3 separate regions of the Homo sapiens genome follow, and all the other regions are linked to region 3. Evidence: promoter capture Hi-C in 16 types of primary human blood cells and fetal thymus (Javierre and others, 2016). All regions are on one chromosome and are shown on one strand. The core of a region is centred on a gene start or on the middle of the fragment in contact, and the rest is flanking DNA. Distances in the headings are between cores, read along the strand shown. Region 1 overlaps LINC00970 (long intergenic non-protein coding RNA 970). Region 2 overlaps NME7 (NME/NM23 family member 7). Region 3 holds the start of DPT (dermatopontin).

What was found. Contacts are between HindIII fragments. The CHiCAGO score rates a contact against its expected background, and 5 or more counts as called.
Region 1: a contact is called between a fragment that was not itself captured here and the fragment with the promoter of DPT in region 3, in 1 of 17 cell types (M2 macrophages). The highest score is 5.4, in M2 macrophages.
Region 2: a fragment that was not itself captured here is called in contact with the fragment with the promoter of DPT in region 3 in 1 of 17 cell types (M1 macrophages); the score reaches 5.0 in M1 macrophages.

Annotation. Positions count from the first base shown.
Region 1 is chr1:169,033,260-169,037,943 of GRCh38, reverse strand. The region is part of intron 3 of LINC00970 (long intergenic non-protein coding RNA 970); the gene reads left to right. Among named protein-coding and RNA genes, the nearest start is that of LINC00970, 51 kb to the left of the region's middle. The HindIII fragment of the contact is 838 bases long and covers 1,328-2,165 here.
Region 2 is chr1:169,203,641-169,208,272 of GRCh38, reverse strand. All of the region lies in intron 10 of NME7 (NME/NM23 family member 7), which reads left to right. Among named protein-coding and RNA genes, the nearest start is that of ATP1B1, 99 kb to the right of the region's middle. The HindIII fragment of the contact is 2,815 bases long and covers 580-3,394 here.
Region 3 is chr1:168,727,508-168,732,198 of GRCh38, reverse strand. It overlaps DPT (dermatopontin), which reads left to right and starts at 2,993. Exons shown (of 4, transcript NM_001937.5): 1 at 2,993-3,329. The coding sequence starts at 3,025. The HindIII fragment of the contact is 3,243 bases long and covers 389-3,631 here.

The DNA of each region.
Region 1 (4,684 bases), core at 497-2,996, 310 kb before region 3:
TACAAGAATAGAAACAAACAAAGGCAAGACAAGCACACAAAAATTCTACACTTTAACTCCATCCTCCCATATTTTGACTTTTGGTTGTCTCAATTTACATATTTTTATATTACTTATTTGTTAATGAGTTGTAGCAATTATTGTTCTGGTAGATTTGTCTTTTGGGCTTAACACTAGAGTTATGAGTGGATTGTACACCATAATTACAGTAACAGAGTATTATGAGTTTGTCCATGTACTTAATTTTACCTGTGGGTTTTATAGCTTGAAAAGTGAAGAACTCCTTTTAGCATTTCTTTTACTATGAGTCTGGTGGTAGTGAATTTTCTTAGCTTTTATTTGTCTGGGAAAGACTTTCTCTCCTTTCATATTTGAAGGATAACTTTGCTGAGTACAGTATTATCGTAAAGCAGTTCTTTTATTTCAGCATTTTGAAAATGTTGTTTCACTCCCTACTAGCCTGTATGGTTTCTGGTGAGAAGTCTGTTGCTGGAAAAACTGGAGCTCCTTGTATGTAACTTGCTTCTTTTTTCTTGCTGCTTTTAGAATCCTCTTTGTCTTTGACCTTTGAGAGTTTAATTATTATATGCCTTGGGGTAGTCTTATTTGGTTTGAATCTGTATTCTCAGACCTTCTTGTGCCTGGATATTTGTATCTTTCTAAAGTTTGGGGGAAGTTTTTTGTTATTCTTTTTTTAAATAAATGTTCTAGTCCTTGCTCTTGCTTAGTTCCTTCTTGAACACCAATAATTCTTAGATTTGATTTTTTGAGGAGATTTTCTATATCTTATAGGTAGTCTTCATTCTTTTTTCTTTTTTCTCCTCTGATTGTGTATTTTCAAATAGGTGGTCTTTAAGTTTACTGATTTTTTCCTCTGCTTGGTCTGCTTTTCTGTTGAGAGCCTCTAATGAGTTCTTTATTTCTATAAATGTATTTCTCAGTTCCAAGATATCTGTTTGACTTTTTATTATTTCAATCTCTTAGTTAAATTTCTCTGATAAATTTCTGAATTGCTTTTCTGCATTTTCTTGGAGATCATTGAGTTTCCTTAGACCTGCTACTTTGAATTCTTGTTCAGAGAGCTCACAAATTGCCATCTCATTAGGGTTAGCCATTGAATTTTTGTTTTTTCCTTTAGAGGATGTCATGGTGCCCTGTTTGTTGTTGTTCCTTATGGGTATACATCTTTGTGTTTGCATTGAAAGGTTTAGTTACTTATTCCAGTTTTCTCTGTCTGGGCTGTATTGGTTTTTATTGCATATTTTGCTTAGCAAATCTTTACCATTAGGTCAGATTTCAGCTCTAGTTGATGTCTTAACTCCAAGCTTATCTTGGCTCAAGTAAATGATTAGAGCACTATTCTTCCCGAATTGGGACAATCCAAATGGGGATATCCCAGCATTGTGGCAAGACTGGCTAGGGGTTAGTGCCCAGGAGACCTATAAGATGAATCTTCTACAGCACTGTGCTGCTGAACAGTCACTCTGATTTGGCTTTTCCTTTGGCTGAGTTACACAGTAGAGTTTCCGGGGCTGGGGATGATAGTTCCACCTTCCCCCATTGTCTCTGCCTCTGATTGTCCTCAGGGATATTTATTCCTTCAGGCACTAGCAATGCTTCCCGTGGGTTAAAGCAGGTACGGGTCTCCTGCCAGGGAACCCAAGACGGTGAGGAGGCTGGTTATTCACCTTGATCTCACTTTTTTACAGTGTAGAAACAGTGAGTTGGTAGAGAATTTTCTGTGTGCTTGATGGTAGAATTGGGAATAGAATGGGAGGAATGGCATCATGAATGTGGAAGTCTGATTCTCTTACTGTCTGCTCAGAGTTTTTTCCACTTCTCTGTGGCCCTGGGAACTGTCTCTTCTTCATATTTGAGTTCGGGGATATTTCTAGTGATACTCTTAGTGCTGTATATTTGTTTTTGGTTTTCTGTGGGGATGAGTAAAGCCAGCTTGCTTCTTTGCTGCCATTTTTGGAACCAGAGTTCAGTGCCAATATTCACTTAGAAAATTATTTACTAATAAATGTGACATAATTTATTCATTAGTGGCAAATGTGTATTTTGTGTTTTTGTCAGTAGCAGTTAATTTTGGGAGGAAAAGCTCCTTCGGAAACTTAGATGTTCAAATGAATGTGGATACTACTATTTAAGGTATAGAAGCTTGCCTGTAGTTTACTAGCTAGCTTCTCAAGCTGTGATTTTAAATCTTTTTCTATTAAGCCATGGATTTTTTTTCAAATAATATTATACACAGAATCCCAACATAGATCAGATAAATCAGAGAAGCGGTGGTCCTTCCTGAGGAGTACCCACAGGCCTATGGCCACAGTTTACTTTTTGAAAAATTAGTTACCTCACAAAAAAATATGTAAAGAAGTAAAAATAAAGAAAAATCATTGACTTTGACAAACAGGTTAAACTATCTGCTAAAATAGCTCTGGATTCTTAGTTTCTACTTTCCACTATTTATGCCCACATAATTATGTGAGCCCAGGTCCTTGAAAAACCAGGTCTCTGAGAAACAAAAAAAGAAATTGAACCTGATATGCTGTACCGCATCTCTTTAATTCATTTCAACATTCCTAATTTGTCAGTCTCAATGAAACAACATAGTGTCCATTAGCCAAAGTCAGAGGTAGGGAAATTTGAGACTTTAAAATAAACCTCACTCCCATTAGGCCACTTTTTGTTTTCATGGGGAATGCAGCTCTCTTCACTGCCAATCTGGGTACTTCCGCATAAAAGGGCTGGGAGGCTCTGCCTTAGGTCACTCTAGAGCCAGGGGTTCATGTTCAGAATCCACAACCAGTGGTCTTTCCACTGCGCAACATCATTTCTTGGTCAATGGTTGATGGCTGCTCCATCATAGAGGGCCTTCCTCTTCTCCTCAGCCTGGCCAAAATAGTTTGATTTTTCATTTCAGACTCAAATCTAGTTTCATTTCTCTCAGAAGCCACCCTTGGTTGCCTCTTTGCCTATGATTTTTTTGTTCTTTGATGTTAGAACTGACACTTGAATACCTTTTCCTATTTATCTACCTCATTCCTTATGGGCTATACTGTATCTCAGCATAATTTTTCTGGTTACATGCTAGATTTTTATGTTTGTATTATATTTTGATGTTGAAAACAATGTGGTAGTGAATATCATGATACTTTTCTCTTGGCACATTTGTCTCAATAGATGGGTTAATTCCTACTACTAAAGCTGCTTGGTTAAAAGGCATACACATTACATGTTTTTGATAGCTATTACTAATTATGTGAGTGTGACTTTCTGCACACCCTCACCAACATTGGGTATCATAAATATTTATGTAGAATTTATTTGGTTTACATGTGTTAGGTTAAGTATATAGTTAGTGAGACACTTAATAAATGTATGTGTGCCTGCTATAGACTGAATGCTTGTGTCCCCTCTAAAATTCATATGCTAAAATTTAATCCCCAATGTGATGGTATTCAGAGGCAGGGCCTTTGAGAGGTGATTAGATGATGAGGGTAGAGCCCTCACCCTCATGGGATTAGTGCTCTTATAAAAGAGACCCCAGCTAGATCCCTTTCCCCTTCTCCCATGTGAGGACACAATGAGAAGGTGCCATCTATGAATGAAGAAGCAAGCCCTCACCAGACACAGAAACTGCTGGAGTCTTGATCTTGAACTTCCCAGGCTCCAGAACTGTGAGAAATAAATTGATGTCGTTTAGAAGCCACCCAGTCTATGGTATTCTATTACGGCAGCCCAAACTGACTAAGACAGCACCCTTTCCTTTTTTCTCTAGAGAAAGGACTTTCTAGGTGGGGTGACATTGAACAAGAGTCATCTATCTGAGTCTCAGTTTCCTTATTTGAAAAATGGGATTAAGAATACCTCCTCATCAAGTCGTTTTAAGGATTAAATAACACAATGTAAATAAAGAACCTATCCCAATGTTTGGTAATGCCCAATAAATGGCAGGAACCTTCTCTTTGTGTTCACTGCAGTGCTTGGTACATATGGCATTCAATGAAAACAAAGTGAGGAAAATTAGTGTATGACTGTCCTACCTAACATCTGCTGAATATTGACCACATCTGGTCACAATTCTAAGTTTTTAAGAATTGGCTCATTTAATGCTTGCCACCACACAGTGGTGGGTGCTATTATTATCCCTATTTTATAGAAACATAAAGTTACAAGCTAGTTAGCAGTTGATCCAGGAATCTAGAACTTGGGATCATAAATACTCCACCTTTTGGAAATGAGTAGCTGCACAACAAGTTGCCTGCCTCTTGTCTGTCGTGGGCTGACATGTTTCCTCTAGAGCGGCCATCTTGAGAAGGCTGGTCAGCTTCCTCAGGCCAGCCTTTACCGTTCCTCCCCTGGGCGTGATATTACGTTTACAAGCAACACCTGTTGTGGTTCAACAACAACACTGTAATTAAAGAGAACAGCCAGAGGAAAACAAAGAAGATGTTTTCTTCAACAAAGTTAAAAAAAATTACAATTACTTACTTTATTTGTCTGAAGATTGATTTGATATCTACTGGGTACTGTAGAAAGCCCCTCACATTAAAATAAAGCCCTATATGGATCTCCAACAGCCAGCATTTTACATGAGGCCTTTATCAGTGTGCCTTGAATAAGTCATGGGCTTGTATGTTTTCAGGTGAGTATTTAAAATGTATTTTTTATTTTATTT
Region 2 (4,632 bases), core at 738-3,237, 480 kb before region 3:
CTTTGCTGAGCCAGAGGAATTTATGTCCTAGTTGAAGAAAAGAATTGTATTGTCAATAATTGCAATAAAGTCTTATAATTGCAATAATAGACATATATTAAATGGAAAAAAATTTACGATCAAATAAGATTGAGAAATACTGGTTTAAATGAAGTTAAGCAGATTTGTGTACTAAAGGACTCTAGAACATGTCAAATGCTGACATGCATTGTGAATCTCCAAAAGAGGGCATCTGGTATGAAGTATTTTCCAATTTTGTTGCCAAAAGTTACAGATGACAACCAGGATAAGGAGAAATTCCTGACCATAATTCTTGCTAAGCTGCTTTCAGGGACCTTGAAGAGAACATAAAGAACTTTGAAACATAGCTTTTACTTTTTAGGGAAGAGAAAAAAGATAAACAGGACTCCATAAATCTAGCCTTCATTATTTTGTTTTCTTTATTTCCAGACTACTCACTCCAGCACCCTCCCTTCCCCACCGCATCAGATCTTTGCACTGATTTGGAGGCTTCTATGCTTTCCTGCTTTTGAATTTCTCATCAATGTTAGAAAGTAACATTGTCCTGTTATTAAAGCTTATTCATACTGATACACCAAAACTCATAAATACTTGCATTTTTCAGACTATTTTCTAGTTATAAGGTGAAAAAGATTGCCTTTAGTTAAAGGAATTTGGAAAAAAATCATTTTGTTTTGTTTTTCTTTGTTGTCTCTTTTTTTCCTTCTGCTTCTGTGATAGTGAAGGTGTAGTTAATTTTGATCCTCTTCCCCCTTGGGTGTACCCTGAGACTAATCCTAGAGCAAGGTTCTTATCCTGATGTCTACAGACCCCTATGGCTTTTGGGAATAGAATTCAGGGGTGCTCTAGTTTGGTTTGCTTGACTCCCCCAAATCTCATATTGAAATGTGATTCTCAGCATTGGAGGTAGGGCCTAGTGGGAGGCATTTGGGTCCTGGGGGCAGATCCCTCATGAATGGCTTGGTGGCATCCTCAGGGTAATGACTGAGTTCTCACTGTGTTAGTTTCCTTGAGAACTGTTTGTTAAAAAGAGCCTGGCATCGTTCCCTTCTTCCTCTTGCTTCCACCCTTACCCTGTGATCTCTGCATGCCACTTCCCCTTCACCTTCCACCATGAGTAGAAACAGCCTGAGGCCCTCATCAGAAGCAGATGCTGGTACCATGCTTCTGGTATAGCCTGCAGAACCATGAGCCAAATAAACCTCTTTTCCTTATAAATTACCTATCCTCAGATGTTTCTTTATAGCAATGCAAACGGACTAAGACAAGGGGTCTGTGAACTTGGATGAGAAAAAAAGAATCGTGTTTATTTTCACTAATATCTGACTGAATATTAGAATTCCATAAATATAAACAACTAATCACTGTTATAGCTATGTGTTAATATAGTAGTTAACTTAGCAACCACCAGAAATTGCAAACATTTTCACATTGCATTACAATTGTACATATCTTAAAACATCATTTACAGTCATTGCTATTTTAAAATTATAAGAGTTATTAAATCAGCTGCTACATTTTAATAAATATGTACATTATATCACAAAATATAAAATATTCTGATAATTTTATTTTAGAGTAATTAATTTCCTGCAATTCTATGTATTTTATGCATTTAAAAACATTGCTTTGAGAAGGGTTCATAGGCTCCATCAGGCTGCCAAAAGAGGTTCTTAACTTTGTCTTTGCATAAGACAAAATTATGAACCCTAGTCCTAAAGGAAGATACACAAAGGTCAAATAAGAATCCCTGGAGTTGAAGACCAAGCATTAACCCAAGACAGCTTCTTCCTTTTTATTCCTTGTCCTAGTATTAATCCTCCCTACCCTCCGTGTTCCAGGCCTCTGAGGTATTCCTCCTTGTAAGACTTGTAGCCATCCATTCTTTTTCAGTCTCTCAACATCAGCTCCAACTTCCATATAGATATTTGAATTAATTAATTAGTTAATTCATCAAATATTTTCTGGGGACTTACTACATACTAAGTACTATTCTAGATACAGTAGAAATACAGTGGCAAAAGAACAAACAATAAAATCTATCTTCACAGAGGACGTTCTAGTTGGGGGGAAACAGATCAGGAGCGGAATAAATAAGTAAAATATATAATATGATGGTAAGTGTGTAGGGGAAAATAAAGCAGGGGAGGGAAATAGGGTTTTCCAGAAAAGGGAGGGATTTATAGTTTTTAAGTAGAATGGACAGAGAAGGCTGCATTTAAAAGTTAACATTGGATACAGACTTGAAGGAGATGAGGGTGACAGTCACCTAGCAATCCAGGCTGGAGGAACAGCAAGTGCCAAAGCTGGAGTATGCTTAGTATATTGGAAGAAGTCAGGAGGACAGTGTGGCCAGAGTGGAGTGAATGTGTGAGGTGAGGTCAAAGAGATACAGGATGGGAAAGAAGATCACATAGAGCGTGGAAAGCTGCTGAAAATACTTTAGCTTTTACTCTGAGTAAGAAGGGGACCATTGCAGAGTTTGAGCAGAGGACCAACATAACCTAACATGTTTTAACACAATAATGCTGGCTTCCATGTGGTGAATAGACAAAGTGGGGCCGGAGCAGAAGCAGGAAGAATGAATAATGAATGCCAGTACTTGACATGTGGTGCTTTGCAGTGGGCTCTAGAGCCAGGCCGCCTGAGATTCTTCATCTGTAAAATATAATCTGTTTCTTCACCAATAAAACGGAAAAAGAATAAGCCGGTTGTGAGGATTATATCAGCTAATATGGGCAAACTTCTTAGAATATTCCATAAATATGGATTTTTCTTACTTTTCTCAGAGCCTAGGATACATGCTGTGAGGGTACCACACAACTATTTGACACATAATGGGCAAGATGGGAAGACTTGAATGAGTTTTGGGCAACCTTGTTCCTATGTCTTGATTTTAGGAGAGTAATTGAGGAAAGGAAGCACCAGATGTTGCCTTTAGATCTGGAACCTTATTCTTTTCATACATATATGTGATGATGGTGCTAAAGCTCAAATTACATAAGATCATGGGAAAACAATTGACACTGACTCTGATTATAGAAAGTAGTGAATTAGTAAATGAAAAAACTAAAAGTGTGGTTATAATAGTAAGTATTGTTTTTTAAGTAAACTGCAACATTACATTGTCAGTTTATCCTAAAGAACAATAACATAAGCATACTATTTTGCTAGACTAATTATTAGTGTGACAATAGTAAATATATATTTATAGGCTTCCTGCTTTGGTCTTATAGAATAATCTTATAGTTGATCAAAAAATTAGATGGAAAACTGTTTTCAGTATGAGATGTTGGGCCATCCTTGTTTTATGACCTTCAAGAAAGAAAAGAAACTTCCAATGGAATTACACCATCTGTAAAGATACTAAGCTTGCCCAAAGAACACAGATAGCAAATTTGAGAGCTTTGATAAGAGTTCAAAATTGAATAAAATTGAGTCAATAATTATTTATTGAAATGTAGTGGTAGTCAAGGCATTACTAGATTTTGCTTGCAAACTGTTGTAAGAAAAGATAAGTTTACAGACAATGGCAAAATAAATCTGACAGTAAGATAAATGCTTTAAGAGAGATACAGGTTGTGAATAAGATTTTCAAGGAAAGTGCTTACATCTCTGGAGTAAGTGCGTAAGGTTTCCGAGAGAGTGCGACATCTGAAAGAAGGTGAACCCTGTGGAATACTTAGAATTTCTATAATCTGAAATGGGAATCTGTACTTTTAAAATGAGAGATTATGTCACATAGGCATTGAGATTGCAAGGCTGAGTAATTTAGTTTGAAGCATTGGATATAGTATAATAGTAGACAATAAAGCTAGAGAGATATTAGCATCATAATGAGTCCAAGGCTGGGAATTTTGTTACTTAATAAACATGAAAAACCATTGAAGGTTACTGACAAAGTAGCACTGTCATGTGATCAAAGTAAGAGTTATGTGACAATATCTAGTATGGATTGAGTGAAAGTTTAGGAGGAGAGGCAGCCAGTACTGAGGCATTTGAGAAATAAAAATAAAATCCCAAGCTCCCTACTGACTGAACAGATCCCTCACTTGGACAAGGGGACCCCAGAGAAACCTTAAAAGCTAAATTCCCTGGCCTGGTGTGGTGACTCACTCCTGCAATCCCAGCACTTTGGGATGCTAAGGTGGGAGGACTGCTTGAAGCCAGGAGTTCAAGACAAAACTGGGCAACATTGTGAGATCTTGTCTTTTCAAAAACTGAAAAATTAACCAGGCATGGTGGTGCATACCTGTAGTCCCAGCTACTTGGGAGACTGAGGAAGGAAGATCACTTGAGTCCAGGAGGTCAAGGCTGCACTGAGCTTTGATCAAACTACTGCACTCCAGCCTGGTTGACAGAGCAAGACCCTGTCTCAAAAACAAAACACGAAAATAAACGAGTTCCCAGCCATGAGGGGATGCGGGATCAGACACATCTCATTATACCTACTCCTTTGCTAACCATCATTAGCCTTCCCTAAGGGTTAAAGAGAAACTAGCCATTTTGAAAAACTTGCTCCACTGCTGATATCAACCATATAAACCATTGCTGCCCTCCCTTCTGTAGTTTTGACAGGGCAACCCACCAGCATTCCTTCCTGATTAGAGA
Region 3 (4,691 bases), core at 1,744-4,243:
AGGGAATCCAGCTGAGGTAGTTCTAGCTGTAGTTGAAAGAAATCTGCGGAGAGTGGAGATCAGGCAGAGGCCCTGGAAATTGTTGGAAAACAAATGTATAATAAAGATGAGTGTTTATGATAATCTGCTTTGTCTCTTAGAGCTCTTTAAGGTTTAAAATAGCTCATATCATGTCCAGAATGCAAGATACAACTCATGAGCATCAGGATGATAAACTGAAAAAATTAAAAAAAAAAAAAAACCCTCTAGCATAGAGGTTCTCAACCCTGGCTTCCGGTGAGAAGCCTATAGGGAAGGTTTCAAAGGACGTCATTGTCAGGACCCTGCTCAGAAGCTTCTGATCTGATTGGTCCAGAAATTGCTTAGACTCTGGAGGTTTCCAAAAGCTTTCCAGGTAATCCTTAAATGCTGATAAGGTGGAGAATGATTGCTTCAGCATATCATGAATCAGAGAGATCCTTCTAAGCTAGGAAGAATTCCGATGCCAGCACTGGGCAGTTACTTACGGATGGAAGTGGTGGGAGAAGATGGTGCTAAAAACAAAACTAAGCCTCACATAGCTGTTCAGCCCAGATCCTCTCCCCCTCGCTTCAGTAACCATGATCATCAAAGAAAACTGCATGCCCAACACACACACAAACACACACACACACACACACACACACGAGTTACTTGTTGCTTTATTCTCATGTATGACTGTCTTTCCCTTTCAAGACTATCTTGGTGTTTGATCTAGACTGAATACCGTCTGGTAAATGTGCCACAGGCTAGGCAGATGGTGGGATTAATAGTGTGATTTTTCTCTGGCTCCACATTCCTTTAGGAAGGTGACTCTTAGCAATTGATGTGAATAAGAATCACCTGGAAAATTTTTTAAAATATAAATACCTGAGCACCCCTTGTGAGGTTATGATTTAGCAGGCCTGGAGAAGAGCCACTGTCTACATTTTAACAAACTTCACAGAGGCTGTAGATAGAATTGGTCTATGATCACAATTCTAAGAAACTTTAAGAACAATACTGATGAGAAATGGGAAATACTATGTGCTTAAGAGATGCCCAAAGGTTTCAAAAAATTTGAAAAGCCAAATCATCAACGGATGCATGGAATGGGTAATGAGCACATGAAAAGATGCTCAAAATCATGGATCATTAGAGAAATGAAAATCACAACCACACTGAAATATCACTACAAACCTATTTGAATAGCTAAAATTTTTTAATGGCAATTTTCTGGTAGTGGTGGGCAATGGTATCACCACTTTGGAAATCAGCTAGGTAGTTTCTTGCTTTCTTTTTTTTGTTTTTTTGAGACGGAGTCTCGCTCTGTAGCCCAGGCTGGAGTGCAGTGGCACAATCTCGGCTCACTGCAAGCTCCGCTTCTCGGGTTCACGCCATTCTCCTGTCTCAGCCTCCCGAGTAGCTGGGACTACAGGCGCCCGCCACTAAGCCTGGCTAATTTTTTGTATTTTTAGTAGAGGCGGGGTTTCACCATGTTAGCCAGGATGGTCTCGATCTCCTGACCTCGTGATCCGCCCGCCTCGGCCTCCTAAAGTGCTGGGATTACAAGCATGAGCCACCACACCCGGCCTCAGTAGTTTCTTTTAAAGTTAAACATACATTACCTTGTGAACCAGCAATCTCACTCCTAGGTATTGACCCAAATGAAATAAAAATTTGTTCACACAAAAACCTATACATAGATGTTTATATCAACTTTATAATTACATTTATGTAATTCATTATATAAAATATAATGAATATAAAATTCATTACATAAAAAGTAATGAATTTTCAAAAACTGGAAACAACCCAAATGTCTTTCAACTAGTAAATGTATAAACAATCTGTGGTACATCCATGCTATGGAATATTACTCAACAATAACAAGAAACAAAATACTAACACATACAATGAGATGTTGAATTTTAAAATGGATGAACCTTAAAAGCATTATGCTAAGTGAAAGATGGACATGAAAGGCTACGTGTGGTATGATTCCATTTACTTGACATTCTGGAAAAGGCAAAACCATAGAGACAGAAAGTAAATCAGTGGTTACCAATGGCTGGGTGTTTGGGAAGATTTGACTGCAAAGGGATATAAGGGGATGTTTTGGATTGATGGAACTGTTCTAAGTCTTGATTAGGGTGCTGGCTATGTTACTGTACATTATGTATTTTAAAAGGTGAATTAATTATATGTAAATTATAACTCAATGAAAAGAAAATTCAATGTGAGGGCAAAAATACTGAAGGATAAATAGGGGGTTTATTTAGATTAAACCCATTACATTTTGAGAGCAGAGCACACTTTCTAGACTTGACTGGGTCCAATTTCAGCAGCATGGTAGAATGCTTAAGTGTAGAAATCATATCCAACTTATCTCCCCATGGGCCCATAGTACTTCCTTATGCAACTTATGAGTTCTCAGAGTAGCCCTGCAAACTGGTATACCCGCGCTTATACTCAAGGGTTAAAAAGTGTTGGATTGACAACTTAAAAAAAAAAACAGGCATTCAGCCTTACAGAAATCCTAGATGGCTCTGTTACTTCAGTCTATGATTTCGGTATTTTGAAATCACTGTCTGGGTATTTGTGTGGCCCGGAAGGCTAGTTTGGAGAACAAATACAGGGGTTTGCTAGTAGCGGGTAGGGTAGGACAGAAAGGGGTGAGGTGCTGAAAGGTGAGGGACAAATATGCTACTAATCAGTGTTTTTCAAGTGAATATTTCTACAGGGTAGAGCAGCAGTTGGCTTTTATAATCTAGATACAAAGTTGTTCTTTCTCCAGGGAGCTTCTTAGACTTACATGCTGCTGGTATATTCCTAGAATTCCACCTTAAAACAAGCTGAATGTCCTTATGGCTGACATCTCAGCATGGAAAAGTTTTGCTTAAGCAATGACACACTGCAGTTGGATCCTTCTCACCCACATCTGGAAGCCACATGTCAGCGGCAGCTATATAAAACGGTCAGACCAGCAATCTTAGAGTGACATTGTTTGCCAAAATCCCAGGCAGCATGGACCTCAGTCTTCTCTGGGTACTTCTGCCCCTAGTCACCATGGCCTGGGGCCAGTATGGCGATTATGGATACCCATACCAGCAGTATCATGACTACAGCGATGATGGGTGGGTGAATTTGAACCGGCAAGGCTTCAGCTACCAGTGTCCCCAGGGGCAGGTGATAGTGGCCGTGAGGAGCATCTTCAGCAAGAAGGAAGGTTCTGACAGACAATGGAACTACGCCTGCATGCCCACGCCACAGAGCCTCGGGGAACCCACGGAGTGCTGGTGGGAGGAGATCAACAGGGCTGGCATGGAATGGTAAGGGCCAGTCCCTGCACTGCACTGGGGCTGGGAACATCTCTGCATATCCCTCCTCCTGGGGGCTGCTAGACTCTCAAGGAATATCAGTAACCAAAGCCTGGGCAAATCCCACCCCAAACCTCACCACTGCATGCTCTGGGTGGAGCAGGGCTGCTGCTGAGCGGACTACATGACAGGACAAAAACCTGGGATGGGGAGTGTCTGTGGGAGACAGACTCCTCTGTGGCTCTGTTCCTTCCAGAAGCTGTTCTACCTACTCTCAGTTTGGGCCAGGGGCTGGTGTAGGTCGGCGAGAAGCTTGCTTACCAGACTACCAAAAGATATGTACAGAAACTGAAAGTAATAAACTTTATAGAAATTAAAACTTTCTGTGCCATCGGAATGGCATTTTTCTTTTTTAGAAATTTATTTTTACCATTTTACAAAAGTACTGGCCCACAGTAGTTTGGGAACAAGAAAAATAAACAATTGATCTCTCAGCACGGAGGGTTTGAGAACTATTGATTTAGAGCAAGTGAATGGAAAAGAGGGGACAAGGACATTTAGGCAAAAGAAAGTGGAATTAAATAGCTGTCTACTGCCTTGATTAAATGTGCTCTCTCAATTATGAGTACTGAGGTCCTTCTCTCTGCCTGAATTTAAAGTGGGTTTTATTGCTGGAAAATAGTTTACTAAAGGGTTTTGGAGAGAGGTGCTGTCTTCCCCTGACTGCATTCTGCCTTAAGCAGTGGCATGGAATTTTTTCGAGCTTGTACTTTTTTGTGGGGTGTGATTGTCTCAGCTGGGTCTCAGCCCAGGTGCTTGGTCAGGAGCTCATCCTAGTAGGCACTGACTGCTAGGCTGATTATTTACAACAGCCTAGATGGAGCCAGCACTCTAGGAGGCTTGGAGGAGAGAACGGAGGAGGCAGTCCAGGGAGGAGGAAGCCCACCTGGAGGGCTGCTGCATGTGCTATCTGTAGAGCAACCCAGATGTGTGGCAACAAGTACTTAGTGTAGTGGGGATTGGAGGGGTCAAGCACAAAATCTGGCCAGGTGTGGTGGCTCACGCCTGTAATCCCAAACACTTTGGGAGGCTGGGGAGGGAGGATCACTTGAGATCAAGAGTTCGAGACCAGCCTAGGGAACACAGCCAGACCCTATCTCTACAGAAAAAAAAAAATTAGCCCGGTGTAGTTGCATGCAGCCTGTGGTCCCAGCTACTCAGGAGGCTAAGGTAGGAGGATCACTTGAGCCCAGGGAGTCGAGGCTGCAGTGAGCCATGCTCGCACCACTGTATTCCCTCCTGGGTGGCAGAGCAAGACTCTGCCTCAAAAAAAAAAAAAAAAGAAAATAGAAAAAAGAAAAAGCATAGAACCCT